Linked DNA regions of Homo sapiens: regions 1, 2 and 4 are each linked to region 3. Evidence: promoter capture Hi-C in human tissues and cell types (Jung and others, 2019). All regions are on one chromosome and are shown on one strand. Each heading gives the region's core, a stretch centred on a gene start or on the middle of the fragment in contact. The rest is flanking DNA. Distances are from core to core; before and after follow the strand shown. Region 1 overlaps RIT2 (Ras like without CAAX 2). Region 2 overlaps RIT2 (Ras like without CAAX 2). Region 3 holds the start of SYT4 (synaptotagmin 4). Region 4 overlaps RIT2 (Ras like without CAAX 2).

What was found. Contacts are between HindIII fragments. The study calls those that stand out against the background at their distance.
Region 1: a fragment that was not itself captured here is called in contact with the fragment with the promoter of SYT4 in region 3 in 5 of the 25 tissues and cell types used here (dorsolateral prefrontal cortex, hippocampus, mesendoderm cells and 2 more).
Region 2: a contact is called between a fragment that was not itself captured here and the fragment with the promoter of SYT4 in region 3, in 2 of the 25 tissues and cell types used here (dorsolateral prefrontal cortex and hippocampus).
Region 4: a fragment that was not itself captured here is called in contact with the fragment with the promoter of SYT4 in region 3 in 3 of the 25 tissues and cell types used here (dorsolateral prefrontal cortex, mesendoderm cells and thymus).

What each region holds. Positions count from the first base shown.
Region 1 is chr18:42,978,486-42,981,185 of GRCh38, forward strand. The region is part of intron 2 of RIT2 (Ras like without CAAX 2); the gene reads right to left. Among named protein-coding and RNA genes, the nearest start is that of RIT2, 140 kb to the right of the region's middle. The HindIII fragment of the contact is 7,856 bases long and covers 1-2,700 here.
Region 2 is chr18:43,015,659-43,018,358 of GRCh38, forward strand. All of the region lies in intron 2 of RIT2 (Ras like without CAAX 2), which reads right to left. Among named protein-coding and RNA genes, the nearest start is that of RIT2, 99 kb to the right of the region's middle. The HindIII fragment of the contact is 4,069 bases long and covers 1-2,700 here.
Region 3 is chr18:43,276,208-43,278,907 of GRCh38, forward strand. SYT4 (synaptotagmin 4) reads right to left here and starts at 1,283. Exons shown (of 4, transcript NM_020783.4): 1 at 1,041-1,283. The coding sequence starts at 1,074. The HindIII fragment of the contact is 4,332 bases long and covers 1-2,700 here.
Region 4 is chr18:42,793,304-42,796,003 of GRCh38, forward strand. The region is part of intron 4 of RIT2 (Ras like without CAAX 2); the gene reads right to left. Among named protein-coding and RNA genes, the nearest start is that of RIT2, 320 kb to the right of the region's middle. The HindIII fragment of the contact is 4,951 bases long and covers 1-2,700 here.

The sequences.
Region 1 (2,700 bases), core at 141-2,640, 300 kb before region 3:
AATACTCTCTTGAATGCATATAAACACTTCCCTGAATTTCAATCATCTGCCTATAGACCCAATCCTGAAGTGAACTCATTTATCTTCTCAAGCATGAGGCCAAATGTATACAAAGCTTTATCAGGCAGAAATGGTAGCAGCTGCCTGCTGTATCATTTGCGCAGAAAAGCACACTAGGACTGCATTCTTGGAGGCATCCACTACCTTAAAATTTATCTCAAAGTACTAATGTTTAATTTGAGATCATTGCTTCTCAGGATATATCTTCTCCACTGTCCCTCTTCAGCAGAATTGCATAAGAAGAAATCACTAAAGACCTATATTAAAGCCTCAAATCTATCACTAAATATCTGTTATTGGTTGGCCATGAAACCTTATTTGTAAGATGGCGATAATAGTAACACTAGTCAACGCATGGGAGTTCTATAAGGATCAACAAAAGTAGCACATAAGACAGTGCTTTTGAAAAAAGAAAGCAAAATTCAAACTCAAGGAATATTATGTTATGAGTTTTATTTAGTACTGCTTCAAATTAGCCATGAAACTAAATTAAAACTAAATTATTTCTGCTATTTATATTTACCCATGTGGAAATGTTTTTCCCAAGTAAATCATAAACTTTTTGGCAAGATATGTTTGCAATAATAACTAGAAATATAAAGTTTTTGATTAATTAAAAAGTGTAAGGTATTCTGGATAATTTTCCCAAAGCAGCTAATGTATTTTTTTCAGAATAAACATATTCATTTACATAATTTTAAAATATTTTAGTTGCAAATATAAAATTAGGATAATATAAGACCACCAAAATATATAACTAAGAAAAAAATATCAGAAATTTAATGGTAAATTTTCATTAAATGATTTTCAAATATCTTAAGATGATTGAATACTTCTTACATGGTTTACCTCATAATCTGAAATATATAATTCATATTACAATGAAGCTATTTTTCTATAACTCCAAGCTATTATACACCTCCAAGATATTAATCACTGACCCAAATTTTTTAAAGGCAATAAATAGTACAAAGTCTCATAGAATCAATTTATAAGATCTTTCTCAAAGGATTACTTGAATAAATCATCTCAATTGTAGGTACATATGTGTGTCTGTGTGTACAGAGCAGAAGTATCTTGCAACGTACTGTGCTGCACACTTTTTCTTGACCAAAATGTTAAATCCTGGATGAATCAGCATTGATACAAATCTAATGTATGTATCAATATATTGATCAATAAAGGGTTCAATATGTATTTGAGTATGTAATAGGTGCTGCACACTCAGATGGCAATACAGTCTACACAACTGAAAAAGCCAGGTGGTTTCCACCCACATTGAATTTATAATCTTGTGGGAATACATAAAAAAGCAATTGCACTGTATTTTAATGAGTGCTACATTAGAAGTACTTTGAAGGGTGCTTATTTAGGGAGATGTCAGAGAACACTCAGAGGAACTGATGTTGAGCTAAGGTCAGTTCTTCAAGTGATGGATTGAAAACAGAGTTAGGAAGGAGGAAGACAAGGAGGGCTCTGCCACGAAAAGAGAAAAGAAGTTGCATGAGATCTGATGTAACCCTTCCTTTGGGCCTAAACATTCAGTGAAATGTCATAAAAGTCTACCTGTTTGTTGGCTGTGAAAAAGGCTTGTAAAACTGGCTGAACTGAGTTTGTGGGACGACTCAGGGCAAAGAAGAACAACCTTTCCTATCATAGAAGTAAAAGCTGAAGACAGGGTACCACAAGGACCTAAACCCTAGAAATTCACAGGAATTATAAGGCAGAGCATGGATTTTTTCTCATGCTGTAATATTGAGAATTCAGTACAGTTTACTTAGGTCTCTGAGAAATAGGAGCTTCCAGATGATATCTGACTTACACAGCAATTGAAATCTTTCCCCCAGAAATCAACTACCCCACTAGCATCTATTTATATAGATGGAATCTCCCTAGTATCAGAGGGATGCTGATTGGTGTCAACTACCCCACTACCACTAGGTAGGTAATAGGGTAGTTGATACCAATCAGTATCTCTCTGATACCCCCCGGAGATTCCCAGTGTTACTGCTCTGGAAAGTCTGCCCAAAGTGGCCAATCACACACTTTCTGTGGTGTTTGCAGGCAGATTCTCCAGTGACTAACATGCTTGTCAGAATGTCTGTGCCCCTGGACTCCTCTGCAGGAGGCCTTGCCAAGAACAGAAAACCCAATGAGGAAGGGCAAGCTGGGGTGTGTCCTGTGGAGACACAGAACCCTACCTGGAGATTTGCAGGTACAGAGGACCACTACTGGAAGATGTCATTTTAAACAATGACTTATCAGATCAAGGACAAGCAGATGGAGATGTATTTGATAAGGAATATACTGATCTTCTGATGAGGGGACATGTAGCCCTGGCAAGAGTATGCAGAAGGAACAGCCAAATGACTGCTCTTCCCCAAAGTCATTATCTACAGAAAATGCTTCAGTGTGTCTCTCATATGTTAGAAACATTTAATCTTTTCCTTTCAACCTGAGAGAGTAGAAGGATCCATTGGAAACCTAATTCCCTGGCTGTCTTCTGCCAAATAAATATGAGCAACAGGACTAGGTCACGGTCACTGATGCTGAATGTCTCCAGTTCTTTGTGTCTGCCTCACTTAATTATTGCTTGGGGATGAAGGGGAAGAGAAGAAAATAATCTTTCCTCCCCAGCAC
Region 2 (2,700 bases), core at 36-2,535, 260 kb before region 3:
AAATACCTAGATTTATTGATCAGATATCCCAGAATGAGTTTCCAAAAGCAGCAGAGCAGTGCCTGAAAATAAGTAATGAGCCATAAGCTGTGGGATTATGTTGAAGAAGACAAAAGAAAAGAATGCTTCCCCCAAAAAGGGCATAATCACCAGTATTGGTTACCTCTTAGAAGTAGAGTAAAACATTGACTGGCTATCATGCACAAAATATGACAGTATATGGAAGCTTAAAGTAAAAACACCACTCACGTGCTGATACTTGTAACCCCTGTCTATCTTAAACAGTCTCCTATGGCCTCATATATTCAACTGCTGAGAAGCTTCCAGTTAGTTAACTTGGTTTGACTAATGAAGGTTTAATTATTCCTAGGTGCATGACTATGTAAGGACATTAGGAAAATAAATACATTTTTAAAAAATGCTACTATCCAGCTTCTAATTAAAAAAGTGAGAATTTGTTTAATGTACAAAAGCATCAAATAGTCAAGTAAGCATGAAGATGCATCAACTTTTATTTATGACTTTCACAGATTATATGCATCTGGAAGATTTGTTTCCTATCATTTCACATGACTGACAAAAATAGAAAGATAAAATAAATTTTAGTTGTTTTCTAATACACACGAATTGTTGCTTCCATTGGTGTGGTGCTTGATAGGTTTTAAATTGCTTTTTACATAGTTAATTTTAGCTTCAAAACAGTTTCATTTTTGTTTTTAAAAATAAATATGGCTGGCATTATTTTACAAATAAGAAAAAAAGGCTCAGATTGGATCAATAACTTGCAGAGAAGGACAACTAATTTGGACTCTGCTTTTCTGATATTTAATTCAGTCCCTTTTCATCATATAAATTCTAAATGTACAGAACATACTAAAACATTATAAAATAAGACGTTTTATCCCCCCACCCTCTGCCCCAGGTAAGTCATAAGCACACCAACTCTAAATGACTGCGTCCAGGAAATATTCAAAGTTAAAGAAAATTATCTATCTTTGTACTAATGAGAATGCACATTATGGGACTATCTTTAATCAGAGAAAGTCAAATTATAGAATATGGAAAATTGACATATTCAATTTGATTATTTACCATGAATCTGACTAACCAAATATTTCTAAATATTTTTCTCCATGTCCTCACTTCGTGCTGAATAAATGCATACTAATATGGACAACTTCAGTGTGAAATGTCAGAATGTTGTCCTCCTTAGTCACCAGGAACCATATCAACATAGTAGTTAAAATTACATTAGTTAAATTAAAAGCTTTAAGCAGAATCTGCCATGGCTAATAACAAAGCTCTTCTTTGAAGAGGCCAAAAATTAAAAGGTAATTGTAAACAGCTCTGACACTGGGGTCAAAAATTATGGATTAGGATCCTAGTTTTACCAACTTCTAAATATATGGCACTAGGTAAATGTGTCTAAATTACACTAAATCATTGAAAGTACTGAGCGGTATGTTACAATTTTAAATGTATCCCTAAGTAGAATATTTCACACTCTACATTTTAAAAATGATAATTACACAAATTGGGAGAGGCAAATGCACACTTTGTTAGCTCATTTTAGGTACGCTTAAAATAGCTTTTACATCTCAATTTGCTTTCATCAGCAATCAGTCAATATGTAGGTCATGTCTACATGAATACTTTTCTTCTCACTCTAATTATTTACATAATTGGCTTATTAGGAGTCAATAAATAATAAAAGATATCTTTAAAAATAAGCTATTAAAATAATACAAAATATAAATATAAGTAATTTGATTTCATAACACAATTGGTTCATGTTTGCTTAGTTATTTAGGTTGACCAGCACTTATTTTAATTAGCTTCTGAATTTAGTCAGCATCAAAGATGGTTAACTAAATATTTCATTGGTTATAGTACTATCTGAAAACGATATTAAAAGAATAATGATAACATTGTTTTTATTACATTACTTAGCAGTAGTAGTTAGTATTTAGAATTAGGAAATGGTTACAGTATGCCAGGTTCTAGGCTAAGCACTTCACATTTATTATCTCAATTAACCCTCACAGGAGACTTATGTGGTAGGGAGAGTTATTATTTCCATTTTTCATTTGGAGAAATAGAGTTCAGTAAATCATATGTAGAAATGTAGTTATCTTCCCAGCATCACACAGATGACAGTCACATGCTACTTAAAGCCAGATGCATCAAACATCCATCTGTGAGCTGGTAGGGCTGGCCATTAGTTTTAGAAGGTTTTGATTATTTACAGTGAATCAGTAATTTTGGTGAATATAGGAAGAAAATTGTCTTTGCAACCTGATACACACACGTTTACTGCAAGAGTAAGAAAGTAGACTGCAGTGTTACTAAGTTTATTCTGATGTGAAATTTCTTCCTTTTTTTGTACCACATAAAGAGTTAGTAAGGGGGTGCCCTAGTAAGTTGGGCTCAAGGTCAAACAGCTTGTAAAATTTGTAAAATTAATCACACAGTTCAGTTCACTGTCTTATCCCTCTGACTCCCTTTCCCTCACACTGCCCCTAACGCGAAGAGTGATCAGAGTAGCCACAGATGTTTCTGGCATCAGAGAAAGAGGCAGAAGGCATTGCAGAGGGCAATTGACTGTGACACTATTAGAACTGAAGTTTTGGGCTGCTTACTTGCAGAGGTGTCTTCCAAGGCCCTATACAAAATTATGTATTCAAAGTTATATCTGTTTCT
Region 3 (2,700 bases), core at 33-2,532:
CCCTATTGAATAGTTATGTCAAATGGCAAACATTTTCTATAACGTGGAAACACTTATCTACTCCCTATGTATTCTCTACTGATAAGGTCTTACAATCTTGAAAGTCAAGATCATAGTTATTTTACTCAGCTTAATAACAATTATCACACATCTGTAGATATCACTCCTCTTCACAACCTTCTATGAAATTTCATGATTTAAAAAATACGTGTAAGTAAAATTCTGACCTTTTTCCTTTGGAATATACTGAGATCTAAAAATAGTACTTTTTTACTCTATGAAGTACGTCTAATTTTATGTACTGAAACCAAAAACTTGGTGTGAGAAAAGGAAAACTGAACGGGAAAATTGGAGCCCTAATTCAAGTTTCCAGCAGCTTTTAGCTAATTGTGCAACCTATAATACTTCCCTCATCTCTCTGGGCTTTGGTTAGCTCAGCAGTGAAATGAAATGGGCTGAGCCAGTTCATTTTGAAACTCTCTTTAACCCTGCTACCATATGATTCTGTCTTTCACTAGCAACATATTTCAAGGATACAAGAAAAACATAGCAGAGAAAAACACCCATATGGTACGCCCTGTAATAAAATATACATTGCCAAACCCCAATAGACAAGTTGCTTTTTTTAACCAAGATCAAACCCCAATGTAACCAGAGATATATTTATCTTCTCCTAATAAAATATAGATTTACCTACAAATAAGAATCACCTACAAAATAGATGAAACCAACATGGGAAAAACAGACCCCTTTTTCTTTACTCAGTACATGCTGCAATTTACAGAAGTACCTGAAAATTTAAGAACTTCCTGAAGGTAAATTCTCCCTAACAGAAGACAGTTTCAGGGAGAGAGATACCAAGGAAGGGAGAGAAGCTGCAGAAATAAGCCACAATTGCCTGACTGCCATTCTCATTTTCCTTTTAAATTAACTACCTAGGAAATCTGTATTCAACAACCGGGCAAAAAATAAATGAATAAACAGTCCACCCCAGAGTATTCAAGGAATAACCGCAGTCATAAGTTCAGTAACTTGCTTACCAAATTCTTCCCGGCTGGTGGTGATCGGAGCCATTTTTTACTGCGTGTTCTGTCCGAGGTGCTGAAGGGAAAACTGCCTGGCTGGATTCACTTGCCTGGATCTCAAGCGCCGGCTTTCGGAGCGCTGAAAACAACAGCGCAGAGCCCAGGGCACCAGCTCCTGGAACAGGGAGGAGGCAAAGAGGGAGGTCCACTCGCCCTCGCACAGTGATTTGCCACCTCGGTTCCTGTTTTGGCTCTTCTGAGAAGCTCGTCTCCGAGACTCCAGACGTGGCTGGAACCCGAATTGACGCAATCCTGACGCTACAGGGCTGAAATCAGCACCTGCCCCCCTCCCCTCCTCCCTTCAAGCTTTCCTTCTTGCTTCCTCCCTCCTCTCTTGAGGATTCAACACATGCTCATCAATTATTTTAACTGTTGGACCACTAGAGATTAGCTTTGCTGTTTTGTGGGGGCTCAGAGGCTCACCGAGATAAGCCCCGAAACTGATCCCTGTCAGTTCCTAATATAAAATCTCCTGATCACCTAGATGAATAAAAATATGTTTCTGAGTTTTCAGAATAACGTAACTTACAGAGGAGAAGTTTCTGCTTCAAATTACTCTTTTTAACATGCAAAAACATGTTTTCTTGCTTTTTAATTTTTTTCTTTGACATGTTATACCTATGATACTTATTACATTTAGAAAAGATTCACTACAAATTGATGCATTTGATATAAGATAGTTTTCCCAGTATAATCCTTTATGTTCTAATAAATTATTAGTCTAAATATTTTGCTGGAACAGTTGATCTTTCCTGGTCTCTCAGCTCTCTTCCCTTTAATATCTGACATTTGACCAGTTAAAGCACTTAGGAACAGATGGGGATAATTCCTTGGATATTCAGAGTCACTCTCAGTTATGACTTTTGCAAATAATAAGGCGCTTCTGAAATGACATTTATGGTTAAAAGGCCTGACTTCTAGTACGTTTGTACAAAATAGTTTCCAAAATCAGGCCAACATCTAAAGTAACATTGGTAACATTGGTTATTTCAAAGGAAAGCATTCCTTTTTCTAAACTGATGATATTCTCGGAGGTGAAAAACTGTGAAAAATATGGTGTCGGATTCTGATTCATTGGAATCTGAAGAGTGTGCCTTTCTAAAACAAATGCTTAGCAATTTTTCAAAGGAAAGAAGTCAAGCTGTAACTCCAACTGTCAATTATTGCTCTGCAAAGAATTTCTTTGCTCTGGAGTTAATAAGGAAATGGCATTCAGTGTGTGCTGGGATGTGGGAGAAGGGATACAGGGTGAGTCTCAGAAAGCTACTGTGCAAGTGACAGGTCCCTGCACATTGGCTAGCAGCAGCCCAGAGCATCAGGGCTCTGTCTGGGGAGAAATTGGCTTCAGTTCTTTGCATCATGGAAAATTTTATAAACCAGTCTTTTTTCTTTGCTATTCTATTTGCTCCCACATACTTGGCATTGGAGTGTTCCTCTAACAGATTTTTTTAAACTTTATATCTTCATGCTTTGAAAACACACAAACTAATTTGCTGTATTTAATTTTTCTGCTGGCAGAGTCTGTGGTTGTGTCTTTATCATTTCACTTTATTCAGATTACCTATTTCCTTAATTATGCATGCATGCACCCTGTAGGGTTGTCCCTAGAAACAAA
Region 4 (2,700 bases), core at 34-2,533, 480 kb before region 3:
AAATTCTTCATTTAAACTGTTTTACTTCTTGGCCTGTTGAACAGTACACAGGCATTTTTAATCATCCCTCATACATCTACTCTTCCTCTGTATCTAAGAACCTACACTATCATTTTAAATCAGCTCAGATTCCATATAGCTATTACATAAATCCTATTCTGACTTCTCAGCCAGTCATCTTTCTTTGTTCTTGTTTAAGGAAAAGGTCTCATTAAGGGAAATAAATCTGGGGGACTTCAACATATTAATGCCAAATAAAGTCATGAAACTGAATGAGATCACCCAATAAGTGAGTACAGTTAGAAAACAAACAAACAAACAAACAAAGAGGCCTGAGGACTGAGACCTGGGCATTCCAAATTTAGAAGTTGGACAGATAAAGAGAACCCAAAGGGAAAAAAGACTAAGAAGGAGTAGACAGAAGCTTCAAAGTAAACATTCAAGTGAAAGCAAGAAGTATTCTAAGGAGAAAAGAGTGATCCACTGGGTCAAATACTATTTTTGAATCATGATTAATTTTTACTCCTCTACTCCTGTTATTTATTACTTGATAGAGGAAGATGGGTATCAAGATTAACCAAAAACTTTCTTGACTTTTTCTTTCCACATTTTCTGGGACACCCTAATGACTTTTGGAAAAGCCTTCTCTCATATCCAAATCCCTTACAATTTCTCATTAGCACCCTACAATTAACTTTTTTTTTTTCCTGAGACTGTCGTATACTTAAATTTTCTGTGCTCCCAAGTTCACTATTTAACTAGAGTATAAGAAAGAATGCGGTTATCTCATAAGCATACATTCTATTTTCCTCCAAGAAAACAGTTCACTCTTTCTGGTGAAGGTAAGGCCAGGCACTCCTTCTTTTCCTCCTTCCAGAGTGCCCTGCAGGGTGCTAGGCCACACGTTGCCTAGCAGACACAAGCAGTCAGAACTTCCCCAGGCATAAAGAATGCAATGTTGTAGCAATGTTGTAGCCATGGTTCTTCCCTGACTTAGTAGCATCAGACAAGCCACTAATCTTTTCAATCATTGGAATCTTCATTTTTAAAGTAGGCAATATCAACCTAGCCCAAATAAAATAAGTCATTTATATGATATCATATTGAAAGGTATAGATCATTGAATAATCTAGGTTTGACTAATTAGTGAATCAGTTTTGCATTAATTACAATGCTTGCTTCTACAGTACATCTTCCAAAATTCTCCTAACAGTTCTCTTGCAAAGCTAGAAACATAAGCAAACATGAGCTTACATTTTTTAAGGTTAATACAGATAGTTAAATCTTAGAGACACAGTTTATATCTCTGATTTCTACTTCTGATTTAAAAAAATATTTCACATGGATGTCTGTGCAAACAGCTGAAATAATTTTTTAAAACCCTCAGAGCTAATAAAAGTGATGGAATTATTGTATGGTGCACGTTTATTATAGGAAACAGTTCATATTATGCAGTAAAAGCTGATTTATAGCATGTTATTTATCAAAAGAGGAATGAGAAATCTTTGAGGACTGCCTTGCTAATTTTTCTTTTAGCCTGATGAGAAATAATGCACAATAAAAATGATAAAAATAATTGCCAGATAAGTTGACACTGGTGAGAGGCACATACCATTTACTTATGACATTTCTTTTCCATGAAAAAAATCTTTAATATGTCAAAGACAGTAGAAAAATTGACACTAACATTTTAAATGTTTTTCTTTTTTTGAAACTAAGGAGAGAGATGGGCAAGAGGACCCATATCCGCTCCTGGTCGCACTGAGAGGTGACAGTGTGCTGGCAGTCCTCACAGCCCTCGCTCGCTCTCGGCACCTCCTCTGCCTGGGCTCCCACTTTGGCGGCACTTGAGGAGCCCTTCAGCCCACCACTGCACTGTGGGAGCCCCTTTCTGGGCTGGCCAAGGCCGGAGCCCACTCTCTCAGCTTGCAGGGAGGTGTGGAGGGAGAGGCGCGAGCAGGAACCGGGGCTGCGTGCAGTGCTTGCGGGCCAGCTGGAGTTCCGGGTGGGCGTGGGCTTGGAACAGACGGCCGACCCTGCCAGCCCCGGGCAATGAGGGACTTAGCACCCGGGCCAGCGGCTGTGGAGGGTGTACTGGGTCCCCTAGCAGTGCCAGCCCACTGGCGCTGCTCTCGATTTCTCACCGGGACTTAGCTGCCTTCCCGCGGGGCAGGGCTCGGGACCGGCAGCCCGCCATGCTTGAGCCTCCCACCCCCTCCATGGGCTCCTGTGCGCCTGAGCCTCCCGGATGAGCGCAGCCCCCTGCTCCACGGCGCCCAGTCCCATCGACCACCTAAGGGCTGAGAACTGCGGGCGCGGCACGGGACTGGCAGGCAGCTCCACCTGCAGCCCGGGTGCGGGATCCACTGGGTGAAGCCAGCTGGGGTCCTGAGTCTGTTGGGGCCTTGGAGAACCTTTATGTCTAGCTCAGGGATTGTAAATACACCAATCGGCACTCTGTATCTAGCTCAAGGTTTGTAAACACACCAATCAGCACCCTGTGTCTAGCTCAGGGTTTGTGAATGCACCAATCGACACTCTGTATCTAGCTACTCTGGTGGGGCCTTGGAGGACCTTTGTGTGGACACTCTGTATCTAGTTAATCTAGTGGGGACGTGAAAACCTTTGTGTCTAGCCCAGGGATTGTAAAGGCACCAATCAGCGCCCTGTCAAAACAGACCCCTTGGCTCTACCAATCAG